4 separate regions of the Homo sapiens genome follow, and regions 1, 2 and 4 are each linked to region 3. The links are contacts of gene promoters, found by promoter capture Hi-C in human tissues and cell types (Jung and others, 2019). All regions are on one chromosome and are shown on one strand. The core of a region is centred on a gene start or on the middle of the fragment in contact, and the rest is flanking DNA. Distances in the headings are between cores, read along the strand shown.

Region 1 (3,362 bases), core at 288-2,787, 290 kb before region 3:
GCATTGTGGGGGAATACGAATGAATTCTAAAACATGGTATATTGTACAGAATTCACAACTCAACAGTATATTTATGATTTAGATAAGGAGATAAGACTTAAGCAAATAAATCAGTGTGATAAAAAACCAAAATGAGATTAAAACAAACAAACCTGAGCGAGTGGTGTGCCCTGGTCCAGGAGACACAGGTGGAAGAGTCAGGACAAACATCTCGAAGGAGCTGGAGATTAACGGGACGTAGGGGTGATTTCACTAGCGTTGGGGCAGCGGTCCTCGGGCGCTGGGGCGAGCAGGAGTAACCGCACGGGTGTGAGGACAGGCACGGAGCGGCCCAGGCCGCGTTTCCCTGGAGGAGAGTGTGGGTGAGGGGCTGGGGGTGGGCAGGGAACCCGTGCACGCTGCGCCAGAATCCCAGGTTTCTCCTGGAGCCGCTGCAGGCCAGGACAGCTGCCGTGATGGGGGTGCTTTAGAAAGGTTCGTTTGGCGGCGGTGAGCAAGTGGAAGGTCATCTTGACTCTCCTTGGAAAATCGCCGTCCCCAGAGCCGCACTCTGAGCCTGCACGTGTTCCCCAGCGTCTGCCGCCCGTGCTTCTCCTGGTTCAGAAGGACGCGGAGCTCTCCCGCAGTGGCCGAGGCTCCCGCAGCGGGGGAGCGGAGATATTCATTTGCCTATTTCCAGCACTGCTATCTCAGTGGTATCTGCGCTCACAGAACAAGTGCCCATTGGCTGCCTTTTGCCCACCCGTGCAGATAAATCTCCCAGTTTATCTCCGCACACACAGGTGCCAAGTATTCACGAGGCTCCAGACCAGAGGCCCTTCTTAATTGCCCGCCATCAGGGTGCTCCCAGGGAGGCTTCCACAGCAAGGATAGCACCTGCCGCCTGCACATAGAGTCTTCGAATTCTACAGGGGTCGCTCCTGTCTTAGATCTTCTGGGAGCCTCGGAGTTACTGACTGAGGGCTGGGGAGAGACCAACTGGACCCACAGCAGCTCTGGGGGATCCCCAATCGGGGGTTCTGGCAGAGAACGAGCCCGGCCTGCTTCAGTAGCATGGAGCTGGGGGTCCAGAACGCTGCCCACTCGCAGGTCCCGCTCCTCGGCTGTGAACACCACTCCAGTTCATGTGAAGGAACCACACTGGCCAGAGAATAGCCCTTAAAGGTTATTCTCTAAATACTGATGCTTGAAAGCACCACCCCAGGGCTGAGAAAAGCACCTCCCAACAGGAGACGTTTGTTCTCAGTGTGGACTCTGCGGGAGGCTTTGGGGTCCTGTAGAGGACAACGACCCGCTGGGAGCCTTGAGTTTGTGTGGAGGGCAACTATCGTGCAAGACCAATGCTCTTCTCTGACACCGGTCACCTGGCACCTGCAACGCCATGCAGCTCACCACACCCCGCAGTTCCTGGGCATCTGCAGGCTCCTGTGGTTCCAGGGGGCCTGGGGAGCTCAGCTCTGCCATGTCTTTGGGAAGAGGCCTTCTCCCCACAGGGCTGCAGTGACCCTCAGGCCCACACATCTTAGTCACTGGTACATGTGCAGGTTACTAAGTGGGCCCTGGGGGACACTGGCTGTTACAGGAGGTGTCCTGAGTGTCATGGTGAGATCTCCAGCATCCCATGCTTTTCGGGTTGTGTGGAGGGCCACAGGCCCTGGCATCTGACCTGGGGAAGGTGTCCCGGGTCCTGTGCCCTGCACAAGTGGTGTGTCCCTCAGCATGCTTGCTGAGAGGTAACACGTGACACAGGTAGCTACTGCCCACTCCTCCACGGCTTCCAGCAACACACCTAGAGACTGTCTCCTCTTTCCCAGCATTCCCCAACTGACGACATCGTCTTGCAAAATGTTGTTTAACCATCCTATGACTTAACTTTACAATTGGTAAAACCCCAGGCAGTACCCGCCATAGTTCCACCCCAGCACTCACTGCAGAGGCATCTGTTCCGATGTCTGGATCTGTTGTGGAAGTGCCTTGGGATCTTCACCTGCAGTGGTTATTGGTCACAGTCTATGGCACACATCTGCAGGTGGAGGAGGAGGGGGAGAAGGGGTTTGGCCCATGGTGGTGACTGGCACCTCGAATGTCAGGCTTGGCGTAGCCCAGTGGTGCAGCCCACAGGCACTTCAGAGACATGGAGGGTGAGGCAGCGGGAGCTTCGAGATGAGCCCTAAGATTTGCAGCCTCTGATGTCCAGGCCCAAGTACACCCTTCCCCTGGGGTGTGATCAGACCTGTGGATGGCATGGGATTTTGATCCCATGATGATTAGGTGACTTTGTAGGATGCATTCCTCAGCCAAGGCTGCCGTAACAACACAGCCGCACAGCCTGGGGCTTGGACGATGGGGATTTGTCGTCTCACGGTGCTGGAGCTGAAGCCAGAGGTGAGGGGTCAGCATGGCCATTCCCTCCTGAGGCCTCTCTCCTGGGCATGTAGGCAGTGTCTTCTCTCCGTGTCCTCTGTGTCTGTGTCCTGACCTCCTCTTCTGAATCTGCTCCAGGCCTCTGTTCCAGCTCCTGGTAGTCGCTGGCAACTCTTGCTGTTGCTGGGCTGGTGGAAGCATCACCCCAGTCTCTGCCTTCACTGTCATGGGGCGTTCTCCCTGTTTGTATGTCTGTCTCCAAATATGTCCTTTGTATAAGGACAGCAGCCATAGTGGATTAGAACCCACCCCACATGGCCTCAGATAACTGTAATATCCTCTTTAAAGGATCCACCTCCAAATCCACTCACATTCTGAGGTATTGAGGGTTAGGACGTCAGCATATAGATTTTGTGGGGAATATACAATTTAGCCCAGAACATATGACCAAGATGAAGACATTTTGCATTTATAATTAAGGTCACAAATCAGGTGAGCTTTGAATCAATTAAAAGGAAAATTACCTTTGGTGGGCCTGACCTAATCAGGTGAGAACCCTAGAAGAGGGTCTGGGCTCTTCTGCAAAGAGAATGACACTTCTCTGCAGGCCTTGAATAAGCACACAGCCATGCTGTGAGCTGCGTGTGGAAGAGGTGGCTTCTAGAGCTGAGGGCTTTAGTGTCGCAGACACAGGAGGCTGAGTTCCATCAACACCATCCGCGGCTGGGGAGCCTCTTCCTAGCTGAGTTTCCTGGTGGAAATGCAGCTCGGCAGGCACCTTGACTGCAGCCTAGACAAACCTCGGGCAGAAGACCCAGCTAAGGCCTGCCCAGACTGACTCACCAGAGCTGTCAGATCCTAAATGAGTGCTGCACAGCTGGCGGTAATTACTTCTGCAGAAACAGAAAACTACCTGGATGGGGAATGTTCTAGGTCCTCAGTCCAGGGAGAGTTTCTTCTCCCGTCCTTTATGATTGCAGAAATGATCAAAACCTTCA
Region 2 (3,231 bases), core at 250-2,749, 300 kb after region 3:
GTAATTTCACCTAACGTTGATAAAATCTCTTCTGCCCTAAGATAAGTTGCTGGATCTTAAAGCGCTGTCCCTATGTAGCTAAATCAAATAAGTCAGAACGTGGTCTCAAGTAAATAGCACTTAAGCATTTGGAGGAGAGACACAGCAGAAAAGATAACAAAGACACTCAACCAACAGCTGGAGTATCAGAGTCCCGAGGGTCGGCTTGAGTGCTCTCAGACGGCTTGTACCCTCCCCAATTACATGAGGAACCTGTGTAAAATAGCAACTAGTGCCAACTGAACTGTTCACCTCCCAAACACCAGTTTATGTAAACTCAATTACTTACATGACCAGAACCAGTGATTTCTGAAAAGAAGCCTCTCATCTACTCTACTAAGTTTTCTGCCAAAACACAGCATGAGTTTTGTTTTCTTTAAAAACTACCATTTCCATATAATTGGATTAACCCAGCATGTGACTATGGCCAGATGTCGAAGCTTCCTAGATCGTGTAGAACCCTCATGTGACCTCAGGCTTCTCTCACAAAATGCTGGGAGTTAAAATTCAGCCGCTGTCTAAAAACTGCCTTAATCGTCCTGAGGAAGTTATAACGGTTGGTTGGAAAACAAAAATTACCAAAGCCTCCATTAAAGTTTCAGATGTTCAAATAGCCATGGTCAGAGAGCAAGAAATGATTTGTTGATTAAGTGCTTGCAGCAACATTTCATTTTGCTAAGATGTACAGAACGAGAAAAATAAAGACATTTTCAAGCAAGTATTAAATTCAGAAAGAGTCTACTTATTTAATCTCTCAAGTCACCTTTTAAAATATTTTCACTGCTATGAATCCAGCATACTTCTTTTTTATTTCAGCACTGATCATCTATCTCCTCCTAAGACTCAGACTTTCAATTAAGTGAGCATTTACCTTCACATCCCTTGTAAGTTGGATTCCTAGGTATTTTATTCTCTTTGAAGCAATTGTGAATGGGAGCTCACTCATGATTTGGCTCTCTGTTTGTCTGTTGTTGGTGTATAAGAATGCTTGTGATTTTTGTACATTGATTTTGTATCCTGAGACTTTGCTGAAGTTGCTTATCAGCTTAAGGAGATTTTGGGCTGAGACAATGGGGTTTTCTAGATATACAATCATGTCATCTGGAAACAGGGACAATTTGACTTCCTCTTTTCCTAATTGAATACCCTTTATTTCCTTCTCCTGCCTAATTGCCCTGGCCAGAACTTCCAACACTATGTTGAATAGGAGTGGTGAGAGAGGGCATCCCTGTCTTGTGCCAGTTTTCAAAGAGAATGCTTCCAGTTTTTGCCCATTCAGTATGATATTGGCTGTGGGTTTGTCATAGATAGCTCTTATTACTTTGAAATACGTCCCATCAATACCTAATTTATTGAGAGTTTTTAGCATGAAGTTGTTGAATTTTGTCAAAGGCTTTTTCTGCATCTATTGAGATAATCATGTGGTTTTTGTCTTTGGCTCTGTTTATATGCTGGATTACATTTATTCATTTGCGTATATTGAACCAGCCTTGCATCCCAGGGATGAAGCCCACTTGATCATGGTGGAGAAGCTTTTTGATGTGCTGCTGGATTCGTTTTGCCAGTATTTTATTGAGGATTTTTGCATCAATGTTCATCAAGGATATTGGTCTAAAATTCTCTTTTTTGGTTGTGTCTCTGCCCGGCTTTGGTATCAGAATGATGCTGGCCTCATAAAATGAGTTAGGGAGGATTCCCTCTTTTTCTATTGATTGGAATAGTTTCAGAAGGAATGGTACCAGTTCCTCCTTGTACCTCTGGTAGAATTTGGCTGTGAATCCATCTGGTCCTGGACTCTTTTTGGTTGGTAAACTATTGATTATTGCCACAATTTCAGCTCCTGTTATTGGTCTATTCAGAGATTCAACTTCTTCCTGGTTTAGTCTTGGGAGAGTGTATGTGTTGAGGAATTTATCAATTTCTGCTAGATTTTCTAGTTTATTTGCGTAGAGGTGTTTGTAGTATTCTCTGATGGTAGTTTGTATTTCTGTGGGATCGGTGGTGATATCCCCTTTATCATTTTTTATTGTGTCTATTTGATTCTTCTCTCTTTTTTTCTTTATTAGCCTTGCTAGTGGTCTATCAATTTTGTTGATCCTTTCAAAAAACCAGCTCCTGGATTCATTAATTTTTTGAAGGGTTTTTTGTGTCTCTATTTCCTTCAGTTCTGCTCTGATTTTAGTTATTTCTTGCCTTCTGCTAGCTTTTGAATGTATTTGCTCTTGCTTTTCTAGTTCTTTTAATTGTGATGTTAGGGTGTCAATTTTGGATCTTTCCTGCTTTTTCTTGTGGGCATTTAGTGCTATAAATTTCCCTCTACACACTGCTTTGAATGTGTCCCAGAGATTCTGGTATGTTGTGTCTTTGTTCTCGTTGGTTTCAAAGAATGGAGGGATAGCATTGGGAGATATACCTAATGCTAGATGACGAGTTAGTGGGTGCAGCGCACCAGCATGGCACATGTATACATATGTAACTAACCTGCACAATGTGCACATGTACCCTAAAACTTAAAGTATAATAAAAAAAAAAGTGAGCATTTACCAAATGCTCCCACACGCTACAAATGGAGGGTGATGAAGATATGAGAGCATCATAGTCCTTGTCCTCAGAACTCATGCTATAATACAGGAAGTGGGAAAGCACATGGAATTGCAGGGCGCAGAGAAGAGGGACAAAGTTTTGTGAAAACAAAGAGAAATATTATTTTAAGTTGGGGGAGGGGGCGAAGGAACGTTTCATGGAAGAAGTGACATTGGAATTGGATCAGACTTCCAAACTTGAGGAAGTTGTTTTCGTCCTGGAAGGGGGCGGGTACTCTTTGCCTTTACAACATGGGTGGGTTTCTGTGAGGCTAGATTGTTTTCTTGCTTGGGATTTTGAGAACTAAATCTGGATTTTTGCCTGAAGATGGGATTATCATATTCTTTTTGGAACACAGATATTTGATACCCATACTGAGTAAGGGCAAGACACAAACTTCTAAGATGTAGCTCTAGGGGTGTTCTGAAGGGCTGCACACAGGCTTTTTGGAAGATATGGTAGCTTTTCTTCTTAGACGTTCTTCCTCATCCTGTATTTTGACCAACTCCCTGGCCCTCTTAGCAGGGCTGCCAACCTTAAGGCATCCCAAGAGCCACAGATGACCTTGGAAGACCTTGCTCAGAGGTGGTCCATGAGTGACTCACCCGC
Region 3 (3,211 bases), core at 187-2,686:
GACCGCCTGGCCGGTGTCCAGGATACGGGTGGCTCAAACCACCAGCAGAACAGCATGCCGACTCTGGCCCGATGGCCGCCTTCATCCCGTAGCCCCAACCCGGCCTAAAGCCGAGAAGACGCCAGAGTGCGCTGCTGAAATTCCCGCGGAGTCCGGTGTGCTGGAGAGCCGCAGCGGGGTGAACTCCCGGCCCCGTCTCTGCGTAGGAGGTGGTTCGCAAAGTGGCCCCGGGAGCCGGGACTGGTACCCGGTTCCCCACGGCACCGTCCGGAGCTCTCCAGCCACGAGGCGCAGAAGTGGCCTGCCAGCGCCTTCCCAGGCTCAGGGAGGCGAGGAGGCCCGTGCACTTGGCATCTTCTCCCGGGAGCCGCACGGCCAGGGCCGCGGCGAAACGGAGCCCATCTCAAGTGCGCCGCGCCTGGCCGCGTCCTGTAGCCCGACGAGGCTGAGGATGGAGAGGGGAGACGCAGGGAGAAGAGGGACGCGGGACTTGGACCCAAGAGGCCGCTCCGTTGCCGGTCTGGCGGCGGCGCCGACTCGGGTTCGCGCGTTCCACACAAGTTTCCTGTCTGCCTCTGCACACCTGGTGGACAAACCGGGCGTCCAGGCCACACCGTCTTCCCCCTTCGCGGGGGCGCGGGGGATGTTTCCCTCCGGCTGCCAGGGGGCTTTCTGGGTGAAGAGAAAGCCCCTCCCCCCGCGTCTCCCCCACCCCTCCCTCCGAGAACCCGCGGCGCCGACTGCGCCTGCTTCCCCCGAGCTGGCGACTTCTCCGCGGGATTTGCCCTCGCTCAAAGTTTGCACAATTGAAAGAGCCCGCAGAGCTCGGCCGCTCCCCGCTTCCCCAAGGGCGGCGAGGCCGGTCATTGGCAGACGATCGGTTACTACCCAGTAGGGGCCCACGGGAACCCGCATCTGGAGTCGGGGGTGTCACGCCACGCCGGTTCAGTGGCTCGCGGAGAGCGTCCGGGTGCACTTCTGCCAAAGATGTCCCCTGGAGGCCCCGGCCGCGCGGGACTCGGGGGAGAGGCCGCTCCCCCCTCGCTGTCACCAGCGTCCAGGCCGCCGGCCCCTTCCCCGCTGCCCAAACAGTAGAAAAGCAGGCGCCAAGTTGTTTTTGTTAAAAAGGGGACACACCTCGGCCGCGAAACTGCAAACCCGGTGTCAGACAGCTGTAAACCCGTGTCGACAGGTTGTCAGACAGCTGCGGGGGCTGGTCGGGAAGGAGCCCACGGCCTCCGGGCCCACACCCCGCCGCCCCGACGCGCGCGCCCACCGCGAGAGTAGCTGGCCGGGCCGGCACGGGGCACCACGTGCTCGCGGGAGGGGCGGGAGCGGCCGGCGAGGGCGGGCGGGAGGCAGGGAGGGGGCGGGAGGGGAGCCAGGGGCGGGGCCTGCGCTCAAGGGGATGCCAATCAAAGCATCAACTTCAAATTGTGTCTGAAAGCCCCGCCGCCGAGCGGAGGGCGGCCGCCGCAGTCGGCGCGCGATTGCGGATCCGGGCGCAGCCGGGAGCCGGGCGCCTGCGAGCACCGGGCAGAGGAGCCGCGACCGGCCTCCATCTCCCGGCCCGCCCGAGCGCGCCCGGCCGGCCGCCCGCTCCTCCCTAGACCCCTCGCGGCGCCCCCTGCAACCCCCTCCGGCCGGCCTCCGCCTCCCTCCCCGCGCCTTTAATACTCGCCCGCTGCGGCGGTCGCCGAGTCCGCGGACATGTCCTTCCCGCAGCTGGGCTACCCGCAGTACCTGAGCGCCGCGGGGCCGGGCGCCTACGGCGGCGAGCGCCCGGGGGTGCTGGCCGCGGCCGCTGCGGCGGCTGCCGCCGCCTCGTCGGGCCGACCGGGGGCCGCGGAGCTGGGCGGCGGGGCAGGCGCGGCTGCAGTCACCTCGGTGCTGGGCATGTACGCGGCGGCGGGGCCGTACGCGGGCGCGCCCAACTACAGCGCCTTCCTGCCCTACGCCGCGGATCTCAGCCTCTTCTCGCAGATGGTGAGTGCGCCCGGCCTCCCCCGCTTCTCCTCTGTCTCACCCGCGCCAGGGCAAGGGTGGCGGGTCGCCCGGGAGGGAGAGACTACGGGTGGACCTGGTCCGGAAGAGGAACTAGAAAGGTCCGGGGGCAGGTTCCCGGTGGCCGAGGCCGCGGCCCCCGGGGACGCAAGAGGGCTGGGAGGCCGGGCGGGTGACGGCTGGGCCATCTCGGCCTGGGAAAGCGGAAGGCCCGGGCCAGGGAGCGGGTAGCGAGTGAATTCAGAGAGGCCGCAGAAGCAGGCCCGTGGAGCGGTGCCCGCGCTGGAGGTCGGGGGCAAACTCGCCTGGCTCGGCCAGGGCGCCCGGGCAGGCCCACGGGGTTCCTGCAGGTCGGCCCGGCGTAGCGTAGCAGGACTTCCCTTCCTGGCCGCGGGTTCCACTCGCGCGGCCTCTTTAGTTTTCGAACCGAGTCTGGAAAACTTGGTTTTCTCCCTCTTTAGCAGCTCCGAGATAGTTGTATCCGAGTTTGCCAGACAGACCCCTTCTAAGCCTGGTAGAGTCAATCAAAATAATCTTAACAATAGAGGTCCAAAGGGATGGAGAGGTCTCTCCACGGCGTGAGTGCGAATTTGAGATTAAACAAAAATTAAGTTGCAGTAATGTGCTGGTGTCTGAAACGGTGTTTGATTTTACTTTTGTAAGTTGCCCAAGTTTTCATTTCATTTGCACAGAAAGAAAAGCACTTTTCTTCCTGCGTTACATAATGGAGGATTAAAGAAAACAGTGTCCCTTGGCTTAAAACAAATGGTGTCCTCTTAGTCTCCCGTCCCAGTGGGCGTTAGATGTCGGGGCAGGCGGCTGCACACTTAATTCTCCGCGGGGGCATTGGCCTGTCTGCCGGTCCAAATCATCCATTTTCCTTGGTCTGACTGCAAGGTCGGTGCTTAAACTTCGGACGGCTGGTGAATTGTGCGGCGGGCGCGGGGCCCTGGGAGGCAGCCCCCTCCTGGGTCGCTGCCCGCGGGATAAAGCAATTTCCAAGCACCCGCGATATCTCCCCGCTCCCCGCAGGAGAAGCGGGGAGTAAACGCCCCTCAAGTGTGCACAAGCAAAGAGCGGGTTTCCCTGTAACTTTTCTTGTAGTTTTGAAAGAAAGCGGCCCGGCTGCCTTTCAGGTCTCTTACTATCGAAAAAGATCAGCCCCCATTTTGTTCAGGCGGCGGGGAGGCCGGGACGCGATGAGAGA
Region 4 (3,520 bases), core at 866-3,365, 390 kb after region 3:
CCATTTTAAGTTAGCTTGCTAAAATGTTTATTTGTAAGAGGTCTTAGAAGCCCAAAAATCCTTAAAACATTGATTTGCCGGGCATTTGAAGCTTTTATCTCAAGAAAAGACATCTTCATTTGCTAAGACAAAACAACTAGAGTCTCCCATGTCTAGTTTTCCATAAATCTTAAATTTCAAAATGTTTTGATACATTCTAAAAAGTTAAATATTTATGGTTATTTTCATCTTAAAGCTTTAAAAGCTGGATTTCAGATTTTATAATCATTGAAGTATATAGATACAAATCTATTTCAATCATTTAAGGTATGTGTCCTAATGACACTGAGGTATTAAAGAAATAACCTCATAATTATGTATAATGGAAGAGAGAGTTGTACCCATTTACAAATTCCTTAAATGAGATTTGAAATATTAAAGTCTTGCCTTTGACAGGTTTTTGGTATAAAATAGCAACTCATACCCAAGATAACTCTATTTAGCAAAGACAAAACAATAACTTGTTTGGCTTGGATTTTTATCAATTTGCTTTTGTTTTGATAATATATAGTGGCAGAATGAGTTTGTAGAGCAGTTGATATCTAAGGGACAAATGAAATTTAAAAATAAAGAATTATTAAATTTTGTCACAGATTTTGCATCTTAAATAAATATCAATATATCATTATACCATCTTAGAAATTTTAAATAAGTTGGAGCCAAAAAAATCCAGTAATCATAAGCAAGACTTTCACAGGAATTCCTTACGTTATTTTTGGGGGCTTTTTTTTTGCCTCTAAAAATTTGGGGGAAAGTGCAGAATCCTGTTGGAAAATCACCATTCTAAAGGACACCTTCAGGAGCATCATGTAATGAGCTGTAATTAAATCTAATTACTCTCTATAGACCATAGATAATGTAATTTACAGGTCAAAACATGTTTTTAAAGGAGTCTGAAATGCACAGTCTGGACCTGGTCAACTCCCACGCAGTTGCCCTCTTGTTGTTTGAAAGGCCCCACCTTTGCTGAAGACGTAGGTACTTGAATTGCACTTTTTCCATCTATTATCCCTACTCAGCTTCACTGACCTCCATGTTTGAGAAAGCATTATTTTTCCTCCTCTCTAATCACCCATCATAGAATGGGCCTTCTGGCCATGAGTGTCATCTATGCTCAATATACACCACACTCTGAATTTAATTTTGTCCATGCAGTTTGTCTAGCAAAGCTGGAGGCAGTTCCTCAGCCAAAAAGGAGGCTCTATCCACACGTGGCAGTGGCCAGCTGGGGCCACTTGGAGCTTATCAGCTTTTTTTTTTTTTTTTTTCAGACGAAGTCTTACTCTGTCTCCAGGCTGCAGTGGCATGATCTCGGCTCACTGCAACCTCCGCCTCCCTGGTTCAAGCAATTCTCCTGGCTCAGCCTCCCAAGTAGCTGGTATTACAGGCACACGCCATTACACCCAGCTAATTTTTGTAGTTTTAGTAGAGACGGGGTTTCACCATGTTGTCCAGGATGGTCTTGATCTCCTGACCTCGTGATCCGCCCGCCTCAGACTCCCTAAGTGCTGGAATTAGAGGCGTGAGCCACCACGCCCGGCCTGAACTGATCAGCTTTTATAGCGTCCTTACACATTCTGTGTCTATGTCTCCTTCTGTCTCACTGGTGATATTTTCAAACATTCACATACTGTTCTCTAAGTAACACAACTGAGGCCACCTGGCAAGAGAGAGCTGCCTGTTCCTGGTCCCTTCCCACCACTAATCTGCATCCACACATGCTCTTCCTCCTAGTCCATAGCTTCCTTCCACAGCTTTTCTGCTCGGATAATTCTTCTGTTAGAAAGCCTCCCATCTTCACACCCCACTTTTGACCTGGGTAACCTCTATGTATCTGTCACTCAAGCCCCTTTCAGGAAGAGCTGTTCATGACCCTTGACTTGCGGGCTGCAGTGATGTGCTCCATTGAGTGCTTCGAAACAAAGCACTCATGCTTTCTGCTAACATTATCGGTACACAGAGCTTTCTCTTTGCAAAGGGCATACCACTCCACTCACTAAAAGAGATCACAAACCCTTAGACAATGAGGATTACTTCTTTCTCATCTGTGTGATCCTTCAGTGCCAAGCAAAGATGGTCCCGATGTTAATTTAATTATGCATCCTGAGGACAGAAGCTTATGTTTCCGGAATGAGTGAAGCATGGCGTGGTCCTCTTGAGGTGGAGGAAAATTGGAACTTTTGTAGTGCTTCGTTCTTGATTCCCCTTCTTCCTCAAGCTTAAGCTCTTTGTCTAATTTTTCTTCACCATTCAGAGCAAAGACCACATTCTCCAAAGAGTGTCTGATAGTCTCAACAAACACACACACACACACACACACACACACACACACACAATCTCTCTCTCTGTCTTTTACAAGAGCATCTAACTTGTCTTTCAGATTTATCTCACAATCAACTAAGGTGACTTCCTATATCGCTTTGCTCGGACATGAAACTTCCAGTGCTAAATTAGTCAAGTTTAAGGAAAACCAGGAGGACTGTGCACTCTCTAATTAACTAATTATTTTGTCTATAAAATTCTAAAATATTTAACAGATTTTCTTTTCACTGAAGTTGCCACTGTTGGATACTGAATTAATGTCATAAATTTGAGTGATTATTTTAATCTAATGCTTATATCTTCTAAATAAAACTGTGCCATTTGTGGCATTTAATGTTATTTTAATGTTTTATAATAGCCTCACAAATAGTTTTCAAAATATTTAATATGCACTGAGAAGACTGTATTTGGTTTTCCATGCCTTGATTCCATTTTGCTTGTATTTAGTGACTCCATGGCCACTTCAATATGGTGTTGCTTCTCCTGGTGAAGACAGCATGAGAATCTATTTGTTCTTACATAATCTATAGTTTATCAAGATGTGCTCAAAATGTGTTGGAGGTTAAATAAATAATTTCTGTAGAAGTAGTTTAATTTTGTGGAAAAGTTTCATTGTAAGATCAGCCCAAATTTACCTTTCCTCAAGAAGGGAGGGAGAAAAAACTGCACAGGACAAGCTGTGGCCCCAGGCAGTGAAGGACAAGGGGCACAGGAGGCTGGGGATTTGTTCTGGAGACCTTGGGATCTGAGTTCCTTAATGTCTCTAAGTCTGTTTCCTCATGCAAAAATGTGAATAATAAGGTTTTTCCTATGAACGGGAACTGTGCACATTCAGGTTAATGATCATGCAGGTTAATGATCTATCGGAACTCCTGCCCTATGAGAGAGGTGAGTGAATGGTGCTCCTTATTAAGTGTTCTCACCATCTGTCCTCTGATTTACTAGGACCTGGTGGGTGTAAAGGGCCTAGAAAAGGTTATTTTAATATCACAATTTAAAAAGTATACATTTGAATTGCTTTTGAGTTTTGGACACACTTAACTTGTAGCTCAAATCTTTAATTTTATATGCATTGAGAATACTATGACTATATTTTGCCAAGTTTATAAGAGTTATGAAGTCATTTTCAAATTGTTTATCTCTCTTTTAGTTTTTTATT

What was found. Contacts are between HindIII fragments. The study calls those that stand out against the background at their distance.
Region 1: a contact is called between a fragment that was not itself captured here and the fragment with the promoter of IRX1 in region 3, in 1 of the 25 tissues and cell types used here (lymphoblastoid cells).
Region 2: a fragment that was not itself captured here is called in contact with the fragment with the promoter of IRX1 in region 3 in 1 of the 25 tissues and cell types used here (H1 embryonic stem cells).
Region 4: a contact is called between a fragment that was not itself captured here and the fragment with the promoter of IRX1 in region 3, in 2 of the 25 tissues and cell types used here (H1 embryonic stem cells and dorsolateral prefrontal cortex).

Annotation. Positions count from the first base shown.
Region 1 is chr5:3,305,243-3,308,604 of GRCh38, forward strand. No RefSeq gene overlaps it. Among named protein-coding and RNA genes, the nearest start is that of LINC01377, 130 kb to the left of the region's middle. The HindIII fragment of the contact is 5,203 bases long and covers 1-3,362 here.
Region 2 is chr5:3,898,833-3,902,063 of GRCh38, forward strand. No RefSeq gene overlaps it. Among named protein-coding and RNA genes, the nearest start is that of LINC02063, 240 kb to the right of the region's middle. The HindIII fragment of the contact is 3,030 bases long and covers 1-3,014 here.
Region 3 is chr5:3,594,396-3,597,606 of GRCh38, forward strand. It overlaps IRX1 (iroquois homeobox 1), which reads left to right and starts at 1,437. Exons shown (of 4, transcript NM_024337.4): 1 at 1,437-1,986. The coding sequence starts at 1,711. RefSeq lists a silencer at 1,140-1,434. The HindIII fragment of the contact is 23,247 bases long and covers 1-3,211 here.
Region 4 is chr5:3,981,990-3,985,509 of GRCh38, forward strand. No RefSeq gene overlaps it. Among named protein-coding and RNA genes, the nearest start is that of LINC02063, 150 kb to the right of the region's middle. The HindIII fragment of the contact is 4,989 bases long and covers 1-3,520 here.